Regions from separate parts of the Homo sapiens genome. Here regions 1 and 2 are each linked to region 3. Evidence: promoter capture Hi-C in 16 types of primary human blood cells and fetal thymus (Javierre and others, 2016). All regions are on one chromosome and are shown on one strand. The core of a region is centred on a gene start or on the middle of the fragment in contact, and the rest is flanking DNA. Distances in the headings are between cores, read along the strand shown. Region 1 has its middle 5.3 kb from the start of DCAF4L1. Region 2 has its middle 56 kb from the start of LINC00682. Region 3 holds the start of UCHL1 (ubiquitin C-terminal hydrolase L1).

The links. Contacts are between HindIII fragments. The CHiCAGO score rates a contact against its expected background, and 5 or more counts as called.
Region 1: a fragment that was not itself captured here is called in contact with the fragment with the promoter of UCHL1 in region 3 in 1 of 17 cell types (M0 macrophages); the score reaches 5.1 in M0 macrophages.
Region 2: a fragment that was not itself captured here is called in contact with the fragment with the promoter of UCHL1 in region 3 in 1 of 17 cell types (naive B cells); the score reaches 5.4 in naive B cells.

The regions. Positions count from the first base shown.
Region 1 is chr4:41,974,274-41,978,560 of GRCh38, reverse strand. No RefSeq gene overlaps it. Among named protein-coding and RNA genes, the nearest start is that of DCAF4L1, 5.3 kb to the left of the region's middle. The HindIII fragment of the contact is 1,178 bases long and covers 913-2,090 here.
Region 2 is chr4:41,824,774-41,829,312 of GRCh38, reverse strand. No RefSeq gene overlaps it. Among named protein-coding and RNA genes, the nearest start is that of LINC00682, 56 kb to the left of the region's middle. The HindIII fragment of the contact is 167 bases long and covers 2,296-2,462 here.
Region 3 is chr4:41,254,657-41,259,470 of GRCh38, reverse strand. UCHL1 (ubiquitin C-terminal hydrolase L1) reads right to left here and starts at 2,543. Exons shown (of 9, transcript NM_004181.5): 1 at 2,462-2,543; 2 at 2,345-2,356; 3 at 1,734-1,862. The coding sequence starts at 2,494. It overlaps UCHL1-DT (UCHL1 divergent transcript), which reads left to right and starts at 2,744. Exons shown (of 3, transcript NR_102709.1): 1 at 2,744-2,912. RefSeq lists an enhancer at 1,333-1,833 and a silencer at 1,668-2,427. The HindIII fragment of the contact is 2,127 bases long and covers 1,164-3,290 here.

The sequences.
Region 1 (4,287 bases), core at 252-2,751, 720 kb before region 3:
ACTTTCCTTCCCTCTCAATAAACATATAAATCAACCTTCTAGAAAAAATAAGTCTCCTTAAATGCTACATGACTTTTTATCTACTGTCTTAAAAAATTATTTCAGCCTTTAGGATTCTTTCCTTCTCTTTTAGGAATTTACATACTCCATTCCCACCATGCCACTCCATTTCCTTCATCCACCATCTCTTCCCATTTCTCCATAGAAGAAATTGGAAACGTTCCCCATAACTCTCACAACTCTGCCCCTCAGGTCTTACCCCAGCTCAAGGTCCCATACTCACCCTGCCCAACCACATCGTGTGACCTTTGCAGCAGTGGTTCTCATCCTGGGACAACTGTTGGCAATATCTGGAGACATTTTTAGCTGTCACAACTGGATACTACTGGCATCGAGTGGGTTGAGGCTGGAGATGCTGCTAAACATCCTACAACACATAGGGCAGCCTCTTACGACAGAGAATTATACCCCAAAAAACTCCTCTCCTCAGAGTTAAAATTCAGAACTGTGTATAAAAGGCAAGGCTTACCAGCTTCCACCATGTGTGTGTGTGTTTTAAATTCCTAAATCTTCACACATGCCACATGCCTCTTAATACTGACCGTTTTTCCCATCCCCCACCTCTGTTCATGTCTGAAGCCACTTCCTCACTTTAGCATCACTGTTGTGAGTCACAGAGAGAGGAACAAGAGGCAACATTCCTCATCTTTTTACTCCAATATCTATACAAGACGGATAGGGAGGTAAAAAGATAAACAGGGATAGATTCCTACTCTATTCTATTCTGAGCCTCTTGCAAAGTCATATTCCAAATGCTTCAGATAGGCTTCACTGCAGCTTATTTATTCTTACCAATTTCACTATACTTTTTCCCAATATCTCCAACATCCCTTTTCTTGTCTTTGAGAAGCTTCCTGGAAATAACTTTTGTCTGACATGAATCTAAACGTATTATATTTCTGTGACATTTTACACTAATTATTGCTCTTTCTAAAAATACCCAGGCCTTTACTTTTTAGCCAATTTTTTTGTTGTTGTTGTTTCTAAAACAGAAGGTGAACTGGGTCAATTCAGGTATTAATTTTAGCTATGCCATATCAACTTCTGGACACAAGCAGCTAAAGAGAAACTGGAATGGGAAGAAAATTCCATTCCTGCCCTGTTTCCTGGTTAGGAAGGAGCAGACTTTAGAGAAGGAAGGCCAAGCATGGTTTGTAACAGGCTGAAAACATGCCCTTGAAAGCTGAGGCCTCAAGTGTGCCTGTGAAATGGTAAACAAACCCGGTAATGGTAAATGAGCCATGGCTTTGGCTTATTTGCAATAAGGAACAAATCAATTGAAGTATTTCATATTCCTCTCAGAAGAGAACCATAAAGAGCCATGAGACTTCCCAAACAATTGGGATAAATGGGAGAATTTAATAAATAGAATGAAACAAACAGAAGGAAATAAAAAAATGAGCAAAATGCTTTTTAAAAAGCTAAAAACATTTTAGAAAGTGTGAGAATAATAATTACTAAACCCACATGTCTGTAACAAATGAATTGCAATGAAAGGCCAGAGTACAAATAAGAATTATTCATTAACTTGCACTGTAGCATCTGCTACTTGTTATTTCAGCAAATGAATTGTGCAGTAATGACAGTGAATTCTAAACTTGAATATCTAATAATTGAACAGTCATTCCTGCTTCCTACTTGCAAGAAAAAAAAAAGGAACTAAAAGAAAGGAAGAAAAAATAAAAGTTACTTAAAAATATGTTAAACTGATGCCAAGACTGGTCATATAATTCAATATACCATTCGAACTGGGCAGCAGGCTTCCCACTGACCCAGCTGCTGAGTACAGAGGTTTTTATGGTAACAGGTGAGCTCTAACATGGCAGCCCAATATTTTACACCCTTGCTGCATTTTCTGATAATGGACTCACACTCTTATTCCTTTTCCATAAACAAAGCATTCTGTTGCCTGTTCATCCCACTCTCCACCCAAGGAGTACCACATCACAATGGAAACCATTCTCCAGGCAATGGGTTTCAGCTATTAATCACTGGGATGTCAAATGAGAAAATATGTGATTGGTTAAGCTTAGAACAAGGTCAGGAATGAAGAATAATAAATTTGAAAGCAGACATTGTTTAACAATTGCTATGGGAAATGGATTCTGGATTACACATACAATTTTAAAATAACTTCAGGTCTCCTGAGCTAGATTTTTTTTTTAATGATAGCACTCAGTGCCAGTGAAGAGCATTTATATTTTGTGACTGCACAGCATATTTTGAACATACTTCCAATATCTGGGGAATGTCCTACCTGTGAGCCTACCTCCCCAAAGTAGAAGGCTGGAACTTGCTCTCCTGGGCTCCTTTGGAGCAAGGGCCCACGCATGTGACAAACCACCAACCAACCATCAGAACATCTATGAGAAGCTACAATTTGAAATAAAGTAATGGGAAAAGTAAGGCATCTCAAGGAACATATTCTGCAAGGGAAGAGGCGTAAGGCAAAATACAACCAGTGGAGGTGGTAAGGACACACGTCCAGGGGAGTGTCCCAGTAATAGTGGTGACTGTTCCCAATGGAAACTGCATTATTCCTGGTTAGACAGCTTCCAAGCCTGATTCCCTACTCCATCCAGACTTTTAAATACCTAATATCCTTTTAAAAAAAATTCTTCTTCTGTTTAACTAGAGTAAGTTTTGTTTCAAGCATTCAATGTGTATTTATTGAGTGCCTACTACGTTCCAGGAACTGGTTTTTAACAATGAATAAAACAAAAAATGATTCTTGTCCTAATGAAGCTTACACTCTGGTGGGGACACAAATGAGAAACAAAATAAACAAATGTGTGATAATGCTATGTGCATTATGATAGGCACTATATGGCAATAAGTACTATAGAGAAAAATCAAGCAGGAAAAAAGAAATGTCAGTGTGGAAGTGGGTGTAGTATATTTAAATAGGGAGGTGAGGAGAGGACTCACCAAGGTGACATTTGAATAAAGATCTGAAGGAGGTAAAGGAATGAGTCAAATTGATATCTAAGACAACATTCTAGGTAGGAGGAGTACTTTTGTACTTGGCAAATTCAAAAAAGAGCAAAAAGCCAGTGTGGCTGGAACACAGCAAATGAGGGAATAAGTAGTAGGAGATGAGGAACAAGAAGTGTGATCAAGAGGCGTTTGTTGGTCACTGCAAGAGCTCTGAGAGTAGAAGCCACAGAAGGGTTTTGTGCAAAGGAGACATATTCTGATGTATGATTTAACAGAATTATTGTGGTTGCTGTATCAAGACAAATTGGGGAGAGGCAGGCAAAAGCAGAAGAGAAAAGTGAGGAAGCTACTGGAATAATCGAGGTAAGACATGAAGGTTGTTTATTCACAGTGATAATTGAGCTGGGTGAAGAGAGAATCTGATTGTGGATATATGTTAGATTTGTTTGTTTGTTTGTTTGTTTTTTGTTTCTGTTTTTTTGAGATGGGGTCTCACCATGTTTCCCTACCTGGTCTTGAACTCCTGGGTTCAAGCAGTCCTCCTTCCTTAGCCTCCTAAGTAACTGGGATTACATGTGTGCAAACTGTGCCTGGGTATTTCTGAATATATTTTGAAGGTATAACTGACACAATTTGTTCATGGATTGTTTTGGGGACATTCTGATGACCTAATGCTTCTGACAACTAGAATTAGCATATATGATTTAATGTGGTTTCTAAGAATCAAAAGCCAGAAATATGTACTAAAACATTATTAGTGGTGCTATAAACCCCCAACATTGATATATTGATATAGAGCTTTAGAGTCAACACTATCTGATGCATGTAATAAAATATATCATCATTACCATGCCAAATTCATTTTTTAAAGTATTTATTTTCAGCACTATGTGCAAGACATAGTAATCTAGTAATATCGCCAAACATTTTAAATAGCACTAGAGTTTATAAAACACTTTAACATCCATCCTTGAACACAGCCAGATTCTGTAACTCACAAAGTGCTACATCACAACTATACTCTGAAGCAGGATTCCACCATCACCTAAGTTTCACTTTCTTAGTTATAAAATACTTTCTACATATGTTTCTTGAACACTAAGCCCATATGCTATGGACTGAGTAGGCCCCCACAAAATTCCTATGTTGAAGCCCTAACCTCTAGTATGTCTGTATTTGGAGAAAGGGCCTTTAGGAGGTAATTAAGGTTAAATGAAGTCAAAATGGCACTGTATTAGTCCATTTTCATGCTGCTGATAAAAGACGTACCCAAGACTGGGTAACTTATAT
Region 2 (4,539 bases), core at 1,130-3,629, 570 kb before region 3:
AATTTCTTTTAATCAAGGCCAATTCTCAGAGAGGGAGACATCTAGGAGTCATCAGTAGCCATTACTCCTGGCAGTTGGAGAATAAGTATCTCAGTCTCAAAGAGGGCATCTGGGCAGGGCACCATATCATCCACTATAATCCTTTGATTGTTGAATGAATGCAAATGTTTTGTAAGCAATGGTAAGGGTCTTAGACTTGATCTTGAAAGCAATGGGATCTCAACACTGGATATTAAGCCCAAGAATGACACAGTCTGATTTGCATATCCAAAAGATCACACTGGCTGCCATGACAATGGATCCAAGAAGGATGTATCTGTGGAGATCCAGTCAAGAAATCAGAAACCACGCCAGTAAGTTTAACAGTGAGAATTTAATATAAGCAGTTGGTTGTACAAGTATTAGATCAAAAAAGAGGCAATAATGATAATTTGAGGGGTCTTCAACAACTTTATGAAAAATGCATATTATGAAAAAACTGTGCCTGGATTTCAAAATATTTTTGCACCAGAAAAATCCATACTCATTTGTTATGTCTGAACAGCATCTAGTTTGAGGCATTAAGAAGGATAAGACATCAGTTTAAAAAAATTCCTTATCAGAGCAACATGAATTCTGCTAAAATTGAAGCAAGAGCAAACATTAAATGTAAGGTGAAGCTTGGGTGGAAAAATGGTGAAATCACGAATGCTTCATAAAAAGTTTATGGGGACAATACACCAAAGATATCAGCCGTTTGAAATGGATAACTTAAAAAATATCCTCCAGATATGAAGGAGGATAACTTTTTTTTTTTTTTTTTTTTTTGAGACAGAGTTTTGCTCTTGTTGCCCAGGCTGGAGTGCAGTGGGGTGATCTCGGCTCACTGCAACCTCCACCTCCCAGGTTCAAGCGATTCTCCTGTCTCAGCCTCCCGAAGAGCTGGGATTACAGGCATGCACCACCACGCCCAGTTAATTTTGTATTTTTTTAGTAGAGATGGGGTTTCTCCATGTTGGTCAGGCTAGTCATGAACTCCCAACCTCAGGTGATCAGCTCGCCTCGGTCTCCAAAAGTGCTGGGATTACAGGCATGAGCCACCTCTCCTGGCCGAGGATAACTTTTTTTTTTTTTGAGACGGAGTCTCACACTGTTGCCTGGGCTGGAGTGCAATGGTGTGATCTCAGGTTACTGCAACCTTTGCCTCCCGGATTCAAGCGATTCTCCTCCCTCAGCCTCCCGAGTAGCTGGGATTACAGGCGCCTGCCACCACGCCCGGCTAATTATTTTATTTTTAGTAGAGATCTGGTTTCACTATGTTGGCAAGGCTGGTCTTGAACTCCTGACCTCATGATCCACCCTCCTCGGCCTCCCAAAGTGCTGGGATTACAGGAGTAAGCCACCATGCCCGGCCGATAACTTTTCTTAAGAAGGGATGAGATGATGTTGAAGATGAAGTCCCTCCCAGCAGACCAGCGACATCCATTTACAAGGAAAAAATTAATCTTGTTTGTGCCCTAATGGAAGAGGACTGATGATTAACAGCAGGAACAATAGCTAACACCATGGACATCTCAATTTGTTCAGCTTACACAATTCTGACTGAAATATTAAAGCTGAGTAAACTTCCCATTCAATGGTTGCCAAAACTAATGCACCCAGATCAGCTGCAGTCAAGAACAGAGCTTTCAATGAAAATTTTAAACAAGTGGGATCAAGATCCTGAAGCATTTCTTTGAAGAATTCTAACAGGAGATGAAACGTGGCCCTACCAGTAAGATACTGAAGACAAAGCACAATCAAAGCAATGGCTACCAAGAGGTGGAAGTGGTCCCATCAGGACAAAAGTGGACTGGTCAAGAGCAAAGGTCATGGCAAGAGTTTTTTGGGAGGCTCAAGGCATTTTGCTTGTTGGCTTTCCGGAGGGCCAAACAACAATTACATCTGCTTATTATGAGAGTGTTTTGAGGAAGTTAGCCAAAGCTTTAGCAGAAAAACACCTGGGAAAGCGTCACCGGAATCCTTCTCCACCATGTCAATCTCTTGCTCATTCCTCTCATCAAACAGAGGCAATTTTTTTGAGAGTTTTGATGGGAAATCATTAGGCATCCTACTTACAGTCCTGATTTGGCTCCTTCTGACTTCTTTTGGTTTCCTAATCTTAAAAAATCTTTAAAGGACACCCATTTTTCTTCAATTAGTAATGTAAAAAAGACTGTACTGACATGGTTAAATTCCCAGGACCCTCAGTTACTTAGGAATGGGCTAAGTAGCTGGTGTCTTGGCTTTGAAAAGTGTCTTGAACTTGATGAAGCTTTTGTTAAGAAAGAAAGTTTATATTTTTTATTTTGATCTTTTAATTACATTTTCCATGAACTATTTGAAGGTCCCTCCTAACAGCATAGTAACTTTGGGAGACAACTACCACTACTAAGGTTGAGGGAACACAGGAAAGAGGTTGGGGTTATAAGAACTTAGAAGCTTGGTGGCCTCGTGGAGCTGGGACTCTAACCCTGAGAACAGACACTCACCATCAAGTTAGTGTTGGTATCTTAAGAGTTCAGAGGAGCCCTGCAGAAGTGGACCTAGATCTCTGAAGACAGGGCATTCCCAGCTAGTGCTAGTACCTCTGAGCTAGTGTAATGAGCCCAGTTCTGGGATGGTGGGGAAAAAATCTGGAAACTGGAACCAATGGTTACTGAAACCCTCACTCCTGGTGGTCCCCTCATCATATGGTCATGCTGGCAGGAGCAGCAAGCAAGCAGCGAGGAGTAAGGCTCTTCCCATCTTCTTCCTTCACGGCTCCCTTTGGAGCCCCCTACTAGTACAACGGCAAAGCAGAAATGCAGTTTGCAGAGCCCTAGCCCTAGCAAACAAATTAGACATAGAAAGTGAGAAACAATAGATTAATAGGGAACCCAAAGACTGAGGATGTAAGTGGAGAGACAAGTTTAGAAAGTTTATTGCAGTAACTTGGGGAAGGTGATTGCTGTAGAGATAAGAGAGGGGAACAGATTCATGACACATTTGAAGTTTAATAGGGCTTTGTGCAGGAGATCACGGGAGGGTGGAGACCAGGGAACAAACTAACTGTATGATGGTGGCATTTACTGATGTGAGGAGCCCTGGAGGAGGAGCAAGTGGGTGGGTAAAGAGTTTTGTGGTCAGATTTGAGCTGATCTTGAAAGACAAAGATTGTTCACACAGGCAGAGGGCAGTGGGGAAGGCATTCCAAGATGGAGGCAAAATCAATCAAATAACAGATTTTTTAAAAAAACCCTGCAGGTTTGTTCAGGGGACAGTGGGTCCATCTGTTTGCCTGGGGAGAAGATGTGAGCAGGAAAGGAGGGAGAAACTACAATGTAACTACTTGAAATTGCAGCTCATTTAGCTGTGAGCCATTAGCATAGTGGGCCTTTAGGACTTGGAATTGACCATTACATATTTTGCTTTGAGATGTGTAAGTGTATGGCTATAACCAGGAGGAGAACAAAATTATATTTTGAGTTATTTCATCCAAAAAGTGTTTTTAAGTTTTCCTAACACCTATTCCTTTGAATTATCTACCACAAATGAAAACATGATACAAACATTTTAGCATTTTAGGAACTTTAAGTTAAGAACATGTTAACTATAAAATGGAGGGTAAGAGGAGAGGATTGAAGTCTAATTCCTGAGTTGTGCTTCATCTCGTTTTGATTAAGACATTGCTTTTTGGGAAAGTCTAAAAATTTGATCTTTAACTTTATGCTAAACTGCTCATTCCTTGTTTTGATCAGTTGATTAGTTGATTAAGAGTCAGACTGCCTGGGTTTGATCCTGACTCTGACACTTATTAGCTGTGTGACCCTGGGCAAATCACTTAACCTCTCTGTGTCTTAAAGTCTTAACTGTGACATGATGATAATAAAAGCACCATTTTCATAAGGTTGTTGTTAGGATTAAGTGAATTAATATATGTAAAGTACTTAGAACACTGCTTGACACAAAGAAACACTATGTTATTATTCAATGTCTTTGACATTTATGCTTAAGAAAACTATTTGCCCCTTTCTCTTCTACACCAGACAGGTATGTGGAAGAAATGAATAATCAGGCTAGATGAAGGAATCAATTCGTTTTCCTTTACAAATCTCTATTTCCTTTACAAAGCTCTATTCCTTTACAAATCTAATGTAGTAGATATTGCTATTGCCTAATACAATATGTATTTTACTTTCCTTAGTATTAGAACGTGAATTCCAGGCTTAGACAAAAGATAACATTTCCAATTCCTTCTTGAAGATAGGTGTGGCTGTATGACTACAATTTAGGTGCCAGCGTAAGTGGAATTGTTGTGGGACCTTCCAGGATGCTGAACAGTAGCTACCTCAGATTAAAGGGTCTCACCTTCTACCTCTCTGCCTTCCTATCTTCAACTTGGATGTGATGGTTGCAGTCCTAAATCATGAGGGTACAAACCACACTCTGAGAATAGCTGCAGAAAGACAAAAGCCTGTGTCTTGGAAGACATCATGGAACTGGAACTGCTGTCTATATCAGCCTCATATTGTTGGCCTC
Region 3 (4,814 bases), core at 1,294-3,793:
CTCAACTTAGTATTCATTGACCAGTAAGTGTTTTTCATTTTCTAGGCTAATTAGATGAAATGTTAAAATGGGATAGCACCATCCTTTAGGGCTGCTTGAGCTCTTCCATGGAAATCATTCTGTAAATAGTCTACTAGCACTTAATGTTTCAGAAGTGGTCCATGTAGGGGGTCATAACATTCCCTTAGTCAAAAATTAAATGCCTTCCAAATTAACATTAGCATCTTTGGAGTCAACCTATAAAACCTCAACTTTTCTTTCAATCGGCTTCAGTGTTTTGTCCAGTAGGCATTCTGTGTAGCAGAATAGGCGCTCGATAAATCTGATAGGTTGAATTGAAACTAAAGGACAAAGTATCGAGCTCTTTCAAACATAACACAAACTAGAATGTTCTCTAAACAAGATTCAGCAAAAGGAGAACAGTCAGCTTTTAAAGGCAAACATGCTGCACCACTGCCTCCCAGAGGCCTTGCCTCTGAATGCTGCTCAAAACCTCCGAGTCATCATGGTTGCTCTAATAAAAAACCTCTGTGTGATGCTCAACTGGAGACAGGAGACTGATTTGGTCAACCAGGAAGCTAATTCGACTTCCAACAATTTGGCATCTTCCTTTTAGCCCAAGTAAAAGACTTTAGCAATAAAAACATGTCAGTGAGATCATCTTATTAGCTGTAAATAAGTGTTTTTACCCACAATACTTAGCTTACTTACTAGGAGGAAGGCTTGGAACTTCCCATACTCTTGATTTTGGCTACAGATGCTTCCAGAACACCTAGCCTTAGGACGGTGCTTCAGTTAACCTCACTCTTTAGAGTGATGCCCCAAGTTTTGCTAAAGCTAATTTCAGTCACTCCCACATCAGCGGTCAAGTGACAGCAATAGGAGATAAGACAATGCCATGCGCTAATGACTGGGATTCCATACATCACAAGACTGCAAATATCCTAGCTATCCTTTAAAAAAAAAAATCTGACGCTGTCTTTCAGATACATCTATCCATGCACACTTGTAGGAGGAAAATCATTTCAAGGGAAATGCAAAGGTGCTTTCAAAACTGAGCTAATAACCCCCTATTTCAGTTAGCTACAAGGTCAGAGATGAACAAGGATAAGTGAAGAGGAAGGAGGTTCCCACACAGAAACCATACACAAAATGATTAAGCTTTAAGAAATACATTCAAGAGGCTAAAAACCAAGTGTGCAAGTGGTGGGAGTGGAGAAGAGAGAAGAACCCCTTAAGACCATCAGAAACCCAAGTAATGGAGGCGGAGAATTAGCGAACCTAATTGTTTCCCTGCGATTTAGGTCAGCCCTTCCCCCTCCATTCTACAGCTAGGTGGGAGTCTGAGAAGCAAACAATGAGTTGACAGGTTATAGCCCTTAAAGGGAAACCAGCAGCCATTCCCCGGAACCGGAGGCTCGAAAAAGCCCAAGTTCGAGGGAACTCATGAGTAGGATGAATGATTTCCCTGGATAACGGGATAGATGGAACTGAGATACTGCCTCTCTTCCAAATTTAAGGCAATTGTGGACGGATGGGCAAGAAGGCGACAGGCACCGCTGGAACAGGAGCCCAGGGAGTAGGTACCACGAAAATGCAGGCTCCTCCCTTCCTTGTAGGCGCGCCCCGCATCACCTACAGGGGAGGGGGCGGGGCGGGGAGCCCCCGAGGACTCAAGCTGGGGAGCGGCGTGCACTGCCGGCGGCCGGCGCATCCTGGGCCCCACGCCCTACCTGGGCCGTGAGGGGAAACAGCAGCAGCAGCGCGCAGGCAGGCGCTGGCACCGAGCCCAGAGACTCCTCTTCCAGCCCCAGCACGTCCACGAAGCGCCACTGGCCGGCGACCCCCAGCCGGGACAGCACCTGCGGAGAGGAGACAAGGCGGCCAGGCGCACGGGGACACGCGGGTCGCGGGCACCTGCCAGGGGGCGGGGCCAGGAGGCGCGCGCCCTCCGCGCCCGCACCCGAGCCTGGGAGGAGCCCCAGTCCCGCCCTGCCACCCCCACCCGGGCCGGCGCAATGACACAGCACAAAGCGCGGCCCACACGTGGCGCCCGCGAAGCCCGTGCAGCCGAGTCTGTGCTGCCCGCGCCACGCCCTCGGGAGCTCCGCCTGGCGCTCGCTCGCCACGGGGCGCAGCCCCCTCCGTCTCCCCGTGACCGGTTTCGTAGAGTCACCCGCTAAATGCAGGGGCCCAGGAAAGGCGCCCAGCCCACGCCCCAGCCCGGCCGTCTCCGGTGCTCGCAGCGGGCGGCTTGGTCCCTGCCAGCAGCCGGAACCGGTGGGCGCCCCCGCCTCGGCGCTCGCGGGGGAGGGGGCCAGAGACGGCGCGAGACGCCACTCACTTTGTTCAGCATCTGAAAGGCAAATGCAAAGAAAAAGGCAAAACCGAACCGATCAGCGACTCGGCTCCCCCTCCCTCGGCCTCGCGCTCTCCGGGTAGCGGTGCACCTGGCGCTCACCTCGGGGTTGATCTCCATCGGCTTGAGCTGCATCTTCGCGGAGCGCCCGGCAGAAATAGCCTAGGGAAGACGAAAAACAGCTAGCGGAGCCGCCCAGGCTGCAGCTATAAAGCGCCGGCCAGACGCACTGTGAGGCCTGTGCAGGGGGAGCAGGGGCAGAACCAAGCGAGGGGGAAACGGACGGTCGCGGCCAGATGGGTACGAACCCCCCGTGCGCAGCGCGGAGTGGTACGGCCGGGCCCCCAAACCTTGCAGTCTCACTCGCCGGTGAGATAATCTGGTGGTTGTGGAGACGGGATTTGTTGGTGGGTGTTCCTTGAGTGTATGGAGCAGTCCTTTTGATGGAGTCTTTAATTTTGGGCGAAGTTTCTGGAAACCCATCCTTTCACCATCCCAATTACTCTAAAGCTCGAGTCTCTGAAGCATTTGAGAAAAAGCACAAATTCAACAGGTATATATTTAATACGAATGAATGTAAATGTGTGCCCCCCGCCCCAAATCTCTCAGCAGTTTGCGTTTAACCTTAGACAATTCCTCCTCCATGTTAAGTCAGACCAGTACCGAGGTTCGTTTTTAAGTGACTACCTAGAATAAAACAGAATCTGGTAGATAACAGATACTGCATTAGGAATGCTGATGTAATGTGACTCCCGCGGAAGAAATGGTTGGTCCTGGGAGAGCAGTAGAAAGCTGGGGGATGTGAGGGTAATACAAGACACAAAGAAGGCAGGCGATTGGAGACTTGAGAAAACAGATCCAGGGAAAAGATGGGTATGATTTTGAGCGAGAGGCTGTAAAAGGAAAAGCATTTTTAAAAGAATGGGAAGCTTTGAAAAATAAAATGTCTGAGTTCACCGCAGAATACTCCCAATGAAGAAGAAAGGGAATGGCAACCAAGGAAACCACTGTTCTCTAATGATCTCAGGTGATCTCTAATGATCTCTAGTCAAAAGATGGAGAGAGAAAGCATTTGCTGAAGAATGAATTTTAAAAGGGACCAAAATCTATAAGAATTGTGCCAGGAAAGCTAAGCTGCAGAACAAAGTGGGCTTGCAGAAATACTTAGGTAGCGAAGGAAGCAAGAAGGTTGAGTATTTTTTAAAAATAGGCACCGAAGAGAATAATGATGATGGTAAAAGAATAGACCTTCTATTTAGGAAGTTGAGGTTAACAGATGACAGAGGGAAGGGAGGGAATCAACATTTTTTGAGTTATTGTTTTTGGGGATCCTTTGCATGTGTCTCTCATTTAATCCTTAGAGGAGCCGTGAAGAGACTCATATTAGTGCAATTTTACAGATCAGAATCCCAGGCCTAGAGAAGTTAATTTGCTTACGGTCACAATTGAAAAGTAAAACTGAGAAGTAAACCCTGCTAAACTGGGCTCCAAGAGCCCATTCTTTATCTAAGATTCCACAACATTCTACTTCTATTTTCTTTCCATTTTTGCCATTAGAAAATGACCTTCACACACAAAAATGAGAGAGAAAAAAATTAGTAAGAGGAGCTTAATGGGTGAATCTTATGGTATGTAAATTTTCCCTCAATAAGGTTGTTAAAGAAAAAAAGAGGTGAAGGTCAAGACAAGTGACTAGGTTATATTGAATGAGTTCTTGCCTTTAGACAAAGACAAATTACATTTCCAATTTACTTCATTTATTCATTCACTCAACAAATATTAAGAACCTACTGTGTGCTGGGTGCCGAGCTTGGAAAGTTTGGAATTAGGCATACAAAGATGAACACAATAAACATGGAAATTTCCCTCATGCCGTTTTTTTGTTTGTTTGTTTTGTTTGTTTTGTTTTGAGACGGAGTCTCGCTCTGTCGCCCAAGCTGGAGTGCAGTGGCGCGATCTCGGCTCACTGCAAGCTCCGCCTCCCCGGTTCACGCCATTCTCCTGCCTCAGCCTCCGGAGTAGCTGGGACTACAGGCGCCCGCCACCACACCCGGCTAATTTTTTTTGTATTTTTAGTAGAGACGGGGTTTCACCGTGTTAGCCAGGATGGTCTCATCTGCTGACCTCGTGATCCGCCCGTCTCGGCCTCCCAAAGTGCTGGGATTACAGGCGTGAGCCACCGCGCCTGGCCCCCTCGTGCTGTTTTTATCAGTCATAAGAGTTGTATGAAAGGGAGCAGAGATCAGGAGCACCTAACCTAGTGGAGGGGATCAGGAAGGCGTCCTGAAGGAAGTGACATTTAAGCTAAGGGCTGATCGGCAAGCAGACGTTAGCAGTTATAAGTGATTGCCAAAATAACTAATAAAAGCAGTCATGAAATCACTGTCAGAAATATTTGTTGAAGGCATTAATTCATTCACATTCATATACATATATGGCCTACTGTTTGCCAGGA